Linked DNA regions of Homo sapiens: regions 1 and 3 are each linked to region 2. The links are contacts of gene promoters, found by promoter capture Hi-C in human tissues and cell types (Jung and others, 2019). All regions are on one chromosome and are shown on one strand. Each heading gives the region's core, a stretch centred on a gene start or on the middle of the fragment in contact. The rest is flanking DNA. Distances are from core to core; before and after follow the strand shown. Region 1 overlaps PHF21A (PHD finger protein 21A). Region 2 holds the start of MAPK8IP1 (mitogen-activated protein kinase 8 interacting protein 1). Region 3 overlaps PHF21A (PHD finger protein 21A).

Evidence for each region. Contacts are between HindIII fragments. The study calls those that stand out against the background at their distance.
Region 1: a fragment that was not itself captured here is called in contact with the fragment with the promoter of MAPK8IP1 in region 2 in 2 of the 25 tissues and cell types used here (bladder and heart right ventricle).
Region 3: a fragment that was not itself captured here is called in contact with the fragment with the promoter of MAPK8IP1 in region 2 in 1 of the 25 tissues and cell types used here (H1 embryonic stem cells).

Annotation. Positions count from the first base shown.
Region 1 is chr11:46,023,743-46,026,733 of GRCh38, forward strand. The region is part of intron 6 of PHF21A (PHD finger protein 21A); the gene reads right to left. Among named protein-coding and RNA genes, the nearest start is that of PHF21A, 96 kb to the right of the region's middle. The HindIII fragment of the contact is 4,792 bases long and covers 1-2,991 here.
Region 2 is chr11:45,883,755-45,886,946 of GRCh38, forward strand. It overlaps MAPK8IP1 (mitogen-activated protein kinase 8 interacting protein 1), which reads left to right and starts at 1,897. Exons shown (of 12, transcript NM_005456.4): 1 at 1,897-2,167. The coding sequence starts at 2,067. RefSeq lists a silencer at 1,759-2,158. The HindIII fragment of the contact is 16,221 bases long and covers 1-3,192 here.
Region 3 is chr11:46,097,560-46,100,855 of GRCh38, forward strand. The region is part of intron 1 of PHF21A (PHD finger protein 21A); the gene reads right to left. Among named protein-coding and RNA genes, the nearest start is that of PHF21A, 22 kb to the right of the region's middle. The HindIII fragment of the contact is 3,376 bases long and covers 327-3,296 here.

The sequences.
Region 1 (2,991 bases), core at 56-2,555, 140 kb after region 2:
GTCAGGAGTTTGAGACCAGCCTCGCCAACATGGTGAAACCCTGTTTCTACTAAAAATACAAAAATTAGCCAGGTGTGGTGGCGGGTGCCTATAATCCCAGCTACTCAGGAGGCTAAGGCAGGAAAATTGCTTGAACCCAGGAGGCGGAGGTTGCAGTGAGCCAAGATCGTGCCATTGCACTCCATCCTGGGCGACACGGCAAGACACCATCTCGAAAACAAACAAACAAAAAGAATCACTGAATGGCATAGAGCATGTAGCAACCTGTAACATGTGGGAACACTGATGTTCTAAGGAACACAGTTTGGGAAATACTGGATTAGTTGCAATTGGTTATGAAAGCAAGGAAAGGGCAAGGTGGTGTCTGGGGATATCTCCCAGCTTAATGATTTTATATGTTGGGCTAACTGAGTTGCTGGTCCTCTTTCTTTCTCCTCCTTCCCATCACAACCTGATCCAGGCATAAATCTACCTTCCATTAAATTATTATCTTCTCTGACTTTCCTATTTCTCCCACTTACATGTCTAGGCTATCAAAACTTTCCCTCCCTCTCTCCCTATATCTCTTTCCTCTGTCCTTCTCTTTTTCTTGTAGCCTCCTTTCTCCCATGAAAGTGCTTTCTGCTTGTTATTAAGCAACATCACTTTTCTTCCATTAAAACAATGCTTTTAATTGCTTTTTATGTAATATTAAGCTTCTCTCTGATGTGGCCACCTAGTTTAGATTCTCTTCTATTTTTTCCTCTATACTTTAATTAAGACTTAGGGACTTTTGGGCCTGGCATGGTGGCTCATGCCTGTAATTCCAGGACTTTGGGAGGCCGAGGCAGGTGGATCACTTGAGGTCAGGAGTTCAAGACCAGCCTGACCACAATGGTGAAACCCCATCTCTACTAAAAATACAAAAAATTAGCCAGGTGTGGTGGCACACGCCTATAATCCCAGTACTCAGGAGGCTGAGGCAGGAGAATAGCTAGAACCCAGGAGGTGAAGGTTGCAGTGAGCCAAGATTGTGCCACTGCACTCCAGCCTGGGTGACCAAGTGAGACTCCATCTCAAAAAAAAGAAAGAAAGAAAGAAAGACTTAGGGACTTCTTTAAGAATAAACCTGCCATCCTGATGATCCCTTAATTTCCCTTTTCTATACCATAGTGACTCCTAGTTCTAGACTAGTCTATAAAGCCATCATCCCTTATTATTGAACATCCCTTCCAATAAATAATTTCTCACAGGAAGCTACTCAAGATCAGCATTATGCTATGCTGTTCCACCTCGCTTCTTAATCTTGTCATTAACACTATTAGCCAGCTGAGTAATGGTGTTCTAGAAACTTTATGAAAATAAACACACACTGCCTATCCACAAGGAGCTTTCTCTGAAAGAGATAACAGTGACAGGAATATGTTGAAAGAAAATAATTTTCTCTGGGGCATATGTATACAGATTAAAAAAAAAAAACAACTTTTCTCCATCTCCCAACAGAGTATGATTTCATACCACAGATACAAAGAGGTGGAGTCTTCTTCTGTCTTATCCCCACTGAATTTCTTCTTTTCTCAAACTTACTATGTCCCTTTCACACAATATGACCAATAGGAAAGTGAACATTTTAGTTGGTTTTTAGGTCAAATTCAAATACTTTCTGATGAAGTAGATATCCCCTTTCTTCCTGCTTTAGCACCAATTCTAGACCTTCCATGATAATCGATTAGGTTAGCAGAGATGTCATCTTCCTGGTCTGAACATTTTCTTAATCATGTATAGCTCTGGACTACAAAAGAAAAATTCCTTTACCTGAGAAGAAAATGATTCTCTGGTATCCTAAGAAAATTCCAATTTGATTATGCTCTTATAATCTCATTTAAAAAATTTTCACTTTGACACAATTTCAGGGTTACAGAAAAGTTGTAATGGCACAGAAAATTCCTATATACCTTTCACCCAAATTCCCCAAAAATGTTATCTTTACCACATTTTTTTTATTCTCCTCTCTTGCTCTCTCCACAAACACATAATTTTTCTCTGGAATTATTTGCAAGTCATAGGCATAATATGGCTTTTCATAAGACAGAGTCATCGGCAGATATGTGATGGAGCAAGTATAGGTGATGGGCTGTGACTGCTCATAGCCCATTGTAAATTAAAGTGTTTTCAACTTTTATTGTAGGCGAAGACATTTCAAAATAAAATGTTGAGGGGAAAAATCAGAAAATCAACACTGATACAATACTATTATCTCCAGACTTTATGCAGATTTTGACAATGTCCCAAGAATGTCCTTTAAGTAAAAGAGAGTCTCAGATCATGCCAAGTTATCTAAATATATCCTGGTATCAGAGGAAGTTGGCTTTCTGACTATTCGTACTTAGGCGAGAGACCTGGGCTAAGGTTAAACCAAAATACCAAAATATCCAAAACTTCGTTATATTTGGCTTTAAAATTTTCAGTCCTTTGGGGATAGATATATCTATAAAATTATGTTTTGACTAAGTTTTAAAATTAAAATTCCACCCCAGCTCAGTGGCATGGGATATGTTTTGTAGTAAAATGTGCCTTAGGGGGAAACTGCCTGAGGTGGAATATTGAGGTGCAGACAATCCATGATGTAGATGTCATGCACAAGGTACATGAAAGCTGACAATGAATAGGACTTAGAATATCATTCCAATGCTTCATGATCCTTTGCATAAACAGGTGTCAAGGTTATTTTTATTAATATACCTCTTTTTGGCCCTTTAAAATAAACCTAAGGGAGAGCATTGAGACTTTTTCTCTTGTGGAAAGCTTTAGCTACCTCTTCTCTACCCTGTTCGCCCCTCAAACAAGTTTATGTGGTAAACTGTTTCCATATTGAATGGCTGACTGTCTTTTATAATCTGAATTAGAAAATGCAAAAAAAAAATCCTTTAAAGTCAAGCAGTGGAATTAACATATGAGCAGAGCTCCTGTGGGCTTTTAAATCCGTAATTAAAAAACCTGAGACACGTTGGC
Region 2 (3,192 bases), core at 647-3,146:
TGCAGTGTGCCCTGCTTCCATGCTAGGGGATGCTAGCCTTGGACTGAAAGCTTTATTAGCTCACACCCCAACTTTCTGGGAAGGGGCCCAGGCAAGGCCCAAGAATATCACAGTCTGGCCTGCACAGAGTGAAGAAGGAGAAAAGGGGAGGAACCTGCCTTGGGAACTTGTCTCATTCTTGGCTCTGCTCTGAAGCTCCTGCTGGCCTCCCTCATACCAAGACCTGGGCCTGCCTTTCCTTCTTGCCCTTCTGGCTTCTCTCTAATAATGGCTTTGGGTTGGTCTTTGGAGCTAAGATAACTTTGCTCTTGAGCAAAAGGTTCTGGAAGAGGGAGTTGTCCTTTACATCCACCCCTGACCTGCTAAGGATGTTCCCTAGCTGAGGCAGGTCTACATTCTAAGGAACGATTAGTAGCCATGATGGCAAGACTGCTTTCCTGAGAGGAAAAGCCAGGCACCATGGCAGCAGATGATTACCGTGAGGGCCCAGTGAAAGGGGCCTGATCACGAAAGCTGAGAAAGTAGTGGCCACCCCTCTGGGCCCCAGGGACAGGGAAAAGAGAAGCAGCCATGACCTTTGGCTCTAGGTATTGGGATATTCTCAGGGCTGGTGGTCGGAGGTTGCCTTCTGCACGGAAGGTGCCTCCAGCTCCTTGCTAGGTGCCGCACTGAAGGAAAGGGGCCAGCATGACTGGTCGGCAGTCCAGATTTGCAAATAGGACTCCACGAGTTGTGGCACAGTTTGCTCTGCACGTTTTCTGCCCTGTGGACAGGGTCTCTAGGGTTCTCTCGAGAGACCAGAGAAGCCAATGAGGTTTGACCAGAGGCTCTACGACCCAGCAAAGCTAAGGCCCTAGCCTTGGCAGTCCGTACTCTGAAATAACTCAATCGGGAAACTCAGGGACTTGAAGGCCTGGAAGCCCAGGAATAACACCCTCTCGAGGGAGAGACAATGAGGAAGAAGCCATGGCCAAAGCCTAGCAGGGATGGAGGTGCCAGAGGGAACAGAAACAACCAAAATGATCCCAAGAAGTCAACAGTGGGAGGAGAGGGAAAGGCGCCAAGTCTTAGAATGTGTGTCTGTGGGTGCAGAAGAGGGGTGCTCTGCAGGAAATGCAGTTGAGGCGCTAAGAAGGAGAATGCTGGGAAGGTCCTGGCGAGAGACCGAGAAGCCTGGAGGGCTCAATTCACCACGAGTAGCTGTTTGGGGCTGAAGAGAGATTTGGGTCAATCTTTAGAGAAGACAGCCTCTAGGGAGAGTCTTTGGGAGGGTCCCCTCAAGGTAAAGGGACAGGACTGGGGTGAGGGCTGGATCCCAGCGCAGGAGGTGGAGTGTTTCTGGGTCTCAGGCAACACATTTGTGTTACGTTACATTCTCACAACAACCATGAGAGGGACTGCTATTGTCCCATTTCACAGATAAGAAGACCAAACCTTAGTGCTCTGAAGTCACTAATGCAAGGCCCCACTGCCCAGTCACTTGTGGAGCCAGTGAATTCACACCACCTGACTCCAAACCTGTACACTTTAAGAGCCCACTGACATCCTCTCCTTTCTCTGCCTTCCTCCACGACCCTCCTTTTCCGCCTGCCTTCTTGGTCTCTGCTGCGGGGGGCCAACCTGGACCTTGGGGTCCAGTGTCCTGCCATTAGTCATCTGATACCCGGGCACTAAGCCCAACCGGAGGGACAAAGCCCACACCGGCCACGGGGTGGAGGAGAGTCGATGTCGGATTTAGGGCGGGGCTGAACCAAGCCCAGGGCCGCGGGGGCCGTGGCTTCAGCACCGCGGAGAGCGCCATCTCCGGGGGCGGGGCTGGCGGGGTGGGGGCGGGGCCTGGGCGGGGCGCGCGAGACCCCGGCCGGGTCCCGGGGGCGCGCGCGGGGCGCTCTCGCCAGTCCCGCGGGCCGTGCGCGGTGCTGTGCCGCGCCCTGCCAGACACAGGTGCGCCCGCCTAGCCCGAACTCCGCGGCGGCGGCTGCCCTCTCGCCGCGCCTCCGCCTCCTTCGCAGCCGCCGCCTCCTCCGCGCCGCGCTCCGCCCGGATGGCCAGGGCTGTGCCCGAGAATGGCGGAGCGAGAAAGCGGCGGCCTGGGAGGGGGGGCCGCGTCCCCGCCCGCCGCCTCCCCGTTCCTGGGGCTGCACATCGCTTCGCCTCCCAATTTCAGGTGAGAGTCCCCGGCCGCCGCGCGCCTCGCCCTTCAGCGGGGACTGATCCGCATTGGCTGCCCTGCCCGCCCCCCACCCCAGAACCTCGGGAACCCGGGAACGAAAGGGCTGCGTGGGAGTGGGGTCTCTTCCCGGGACAGAGCCCCCCTCAGAAGCCCCGCCAGCCTCAAGTCCGGACTGGTAGCCGTTGCATGTTCACGAGGCTGTTCCCTCCGCCATTCCTGGTCCTAGGCTGGGAGGTCTGCGCTGGAATTGGAGGAGGGGGCTCGGAGGCCTCCTTCTCCCCAACCTCCGGGCTGCGGCAGGGTCTGGGGTCGGGGTTGCGATCCCGGAGCGGGCAGGCAGGCTGCATCTTAGCCTGTGAATAGAGCTGGGAACAGCCTGGAGGGGCGCGGGTCGCAGTTTCCTGGGGCAACGACATTGTTGGTGCTGGGAGGAGGATGTTTGAGCCCCTCCCCGAGCCCTGCCTGGCCAGATGGGCCTACCTGCCAGGCCTGGCGTGGCCGGGCCCCTCTCTGGATTGGGCAGCACCGACCTAGGCAGGTGTGTCTCTCAGGGCAGGCGCTGAAGGCTCAGCCTCAACCAGGGGAATCCTAGGCCCGGCTGCGGGAAGGGAAGTCGGCTCGGCTCTGGAGTAGCCAGGGCCAGCGAGGGTGTCGAGGGGATCCCTGCTGGGGTAAATACCCAGAACCCTGACCTGAGCTCCTATTCCACCACCCCCACCCCCCAATCTGGTGTTAGGCCCGATGCATTTCAGAGAAGTGAGGGGTGAGTGTTGTGTGGAGGAGGAATAGATGTACCTCCCCCATAATTCTGAACCCTAGTTGGTGGGGAGGAAGAGGCCGAAGTCACTGCTCCCGGCCTAGAGAGGGAGGCTTAGACATACCCCATTGTTTCCCCATCTCGAGAACTGGCGCCTTCCCCTCTCCTGGGGCACCACCCCAGCCAGGCTCCAGCTGGGCTGTGGTGCCAGCCCCTCCTGGGAGCAAGGGGTCACTGGCTCCCAGGTCCTCAGGTGGGCAGA
Region 3 (3,296 bases), core at 765-3,264, 210 kb after region 2:
TTCCGCTCCCCAACTTTTACTTATGCTCTTCCTTATAACAAGAATAATACCTTTTTACCCTCTCTCTAACTATCCAAATCTCACCCACACACTAGGGTCCAGATAAAGACTCACTGATTAACAGAGATCTGCTCAAACCATCCTAATTCCCAATTCTTCCTTTGTTTAAACTCCTAAAGTGTTTATCCTCTTTCTCATTCATTTTCAAGTTTAACCACACACTGCCTCACATTTTAATCTGACCTATATGACATCTCCCTAACTAGAACACACACACACACATACACAAAAGAATAGAATACCTTGTACAAGTAGTTCTCAATCCTAGATCAGGATAACACATAAAACTTCAAAAAATACAGGTTCACAGGCCCTACCCTTAAAGATATTGAATATATTATGTCTTATTTAGAACCCATAGATCTGTATTTAAGTTCCCCCAAAAGATTCTAATAGGGAGCCAGGATTAGAAACCACTGCCTGCCTTACAGTACTCTATTTCCTTCAGTACCTAGGAAAGTAGGCCTTCAAACAGCCTAAAACTAGAATGGACACCTCAGAGGGCAGATCCATACCTTCATTTCATGGAGGAACAGAGGTCCAAGAAGTCCAGATGACTAGCTAAAATCTACAAAGATTTAGACTGTACATAAATAAATGGAAGTAATAAAAATCCACAATTCACAGATGGGTGTAGTAAACACTGATTATCTATTACTTGACCAGTGGTTGTAGTGTCTAAGTTCTAAAACAGTGCATATTAACTTCTATATGCTTGAAAAATGTGAGCCACACTAGCTAATAAAAGACTTTGAGGCCAGAGGGTAATTACAGGAAGGCTTTTAAGTAGAATAAAAAACAAAACAATTTTTCTAAGTCTTCTTACAATATAAACAAAAACTGTTAGAACCATTTTTTATGGTTGAGAAGAAATAGCAGAAATAAATAGAAAGAAGAAATCTTGCTTCCTCACTCTATAAAGTACAAAAATCCTTATTCACAAGCTTCCATAGCTCTCACGAAGCTGTTTTCTGAGTCTAATGATCATAACGAAAACTTCTTAATTATAGATCAGACTTAGTAAATCACTCCTTATCCCAAGACAACTCAAACTCTATCTTAATAATCAGTTAACCTCAGGACTAAAACTCTTGTCATTAACAACAAAAAAACAACTCAGGTATCTATAAGGCATTATAAAAGAGTTTGAGCTTATTTTGGTGTACAGGGATTTAAGGAAGTGCCTCCTATTAACACTAATGGGAGTTCTGGGTGTAAACCATAAGCACCAAGGAGGAGGATCAACGCCCAGCACTGCATCTGTGAGAACCCTTTCTATTGCACTAACTGTAACTACTGGGAGTTGTTCGCTCAGAAATGGGATAATAGACCCAAATTCCTATGTCTCTAAAGCACAAGATAATTCAAATAAAAGTCACTAAGAAAGGTCAATGCTAGATACCAGATTTTAAAAATAAACAAGAAGAAGTTAAACTAAAAGAACAACACATTAAGAAAATTTTATAAAATAGCATCAACATACACAGAAGAAATTAGTGAATTGCTAGAGAAAAATATCTCACACAAAAATAAATTCAACAAGATTAAAACAACCAAATTTTAAAAAATTAAAGCACAGTAAACCCAACTATAGCCAGAAGCTTATCCAGAGAAACACATGCACACAAAACAAAACTCAACTCCTCCCTGATGGAGCCCTCAGTATACTACAGTCCTTGCTTTAAACACAGAAGAAAACTCCTGCTGCATCGATAGCCAAGAATAATCAGAGTACTTCCAGATAAATGGACAGTGATCACAAGCTGCCGAGGATGAGCAAAACTAACTAAATAAAAATTATAGCACCTTATTGTGTTCCATCCTGCCTCACTTCTCAATATAGCACTGCTGTACTCACTAGGCTGGAAAATGAGCAGGTGCCTTTCAGGCTATAGAAAAATTAGACACACACACACACACACACACACACACACACACACACACCCTAAACACAAACACAAACACAAAGGGAATGATACTCTTTCACTTGAAGGGGCTTAAAAAATGCAAGGCTTTGCTGCAGGCCTAGAAAACTCAGAGTAGGCCTTACCGAAGAAGTGAGAAAAAAGCCAAGCTTTATTCCAAATCCACATTTCAAGCACTAAAAGAATTAACATTTATTTCAGTTAAAAGGTTTTGGCAACAATCCATTTTTTAAAAAGGAAAGAGAAATTAAGATTTTCCCTGTTTCCAGCCTGAAAGAAAATTAGAATCTCTTCTCTCTGACTATACAGGTTTAGCTCCACAACACAAATAAAAAAGAACCCTGACTTTAGGCCTAAAAACTAAAAATGGTTCCATACAATTTACATTTTTTAAAAAATCTTTGTAGTCCAACATATTGATCCTTTCTCACCACTGCTATCCTTAATGAACATTTATCTTTTTATCAGTACTTTGAAATGTCAATGAGAAGTGGAAACAGCTACAATACACTGGGAATTTTAACTTTTGAAACAAAAACCACAAAGAAACAGGAGTCTGAAACATGCCTCAATCACGCTGATAAGTAAGTAGTCCTAAAACTTGAAAGTGAAAGCAATACAGACCTCAAAAAGAAGTTGTTTGCTTGATATTAATGCTAGCCTTTAAGACCAAAAATATGTTATGTTACAGAAGACTGAAATCAGGGCTTCCATTAACCTTGTTTAAAAAAAAAAAAATCCCATGAGCATGGACTTTTTTCCTAAGTCTCTTCATCAGAGCAGCATGGGGTCCCATTAGGCACCCTATTTTACTTCCACCTTATAAATAACGTTAGCTATTTGCTATTTCCATGGAAACCAAGTAGAGAGAAACCCACTTAAATGAATACCGGTTAAAAGAATAAGTTTTATTTTAGAAAGGTTTTGCTGCTATAGGCGAACTCTTCTGGGGAATACCACAAAGTCTTCTTAAGTATAATTTTTAAAATATATATCTTTGGTGTAGAGGGAACTTATTAAAGGTCCTGTTAAGTAAGTATACTCCTTGCACTAAATGATAGATGCCAAATAACATCATAACATTAAAGACACATTTTCAATGCACAGGGGTTTACATGCACAACTTTCACTGACTATGCTTCCCCATGCATTGAGATGGAATAATTACACCTGTGGGTCTAATTTAAACTAATGCAACCAAATAAATTCAGAAATAAGTCTACCATTACCTTGTAGTGACTCCTAATGAACACGCCCCACAACTGCAGACATATGTACAACTTACAGTGCAAAGAAGAGCAAACAAGGGAG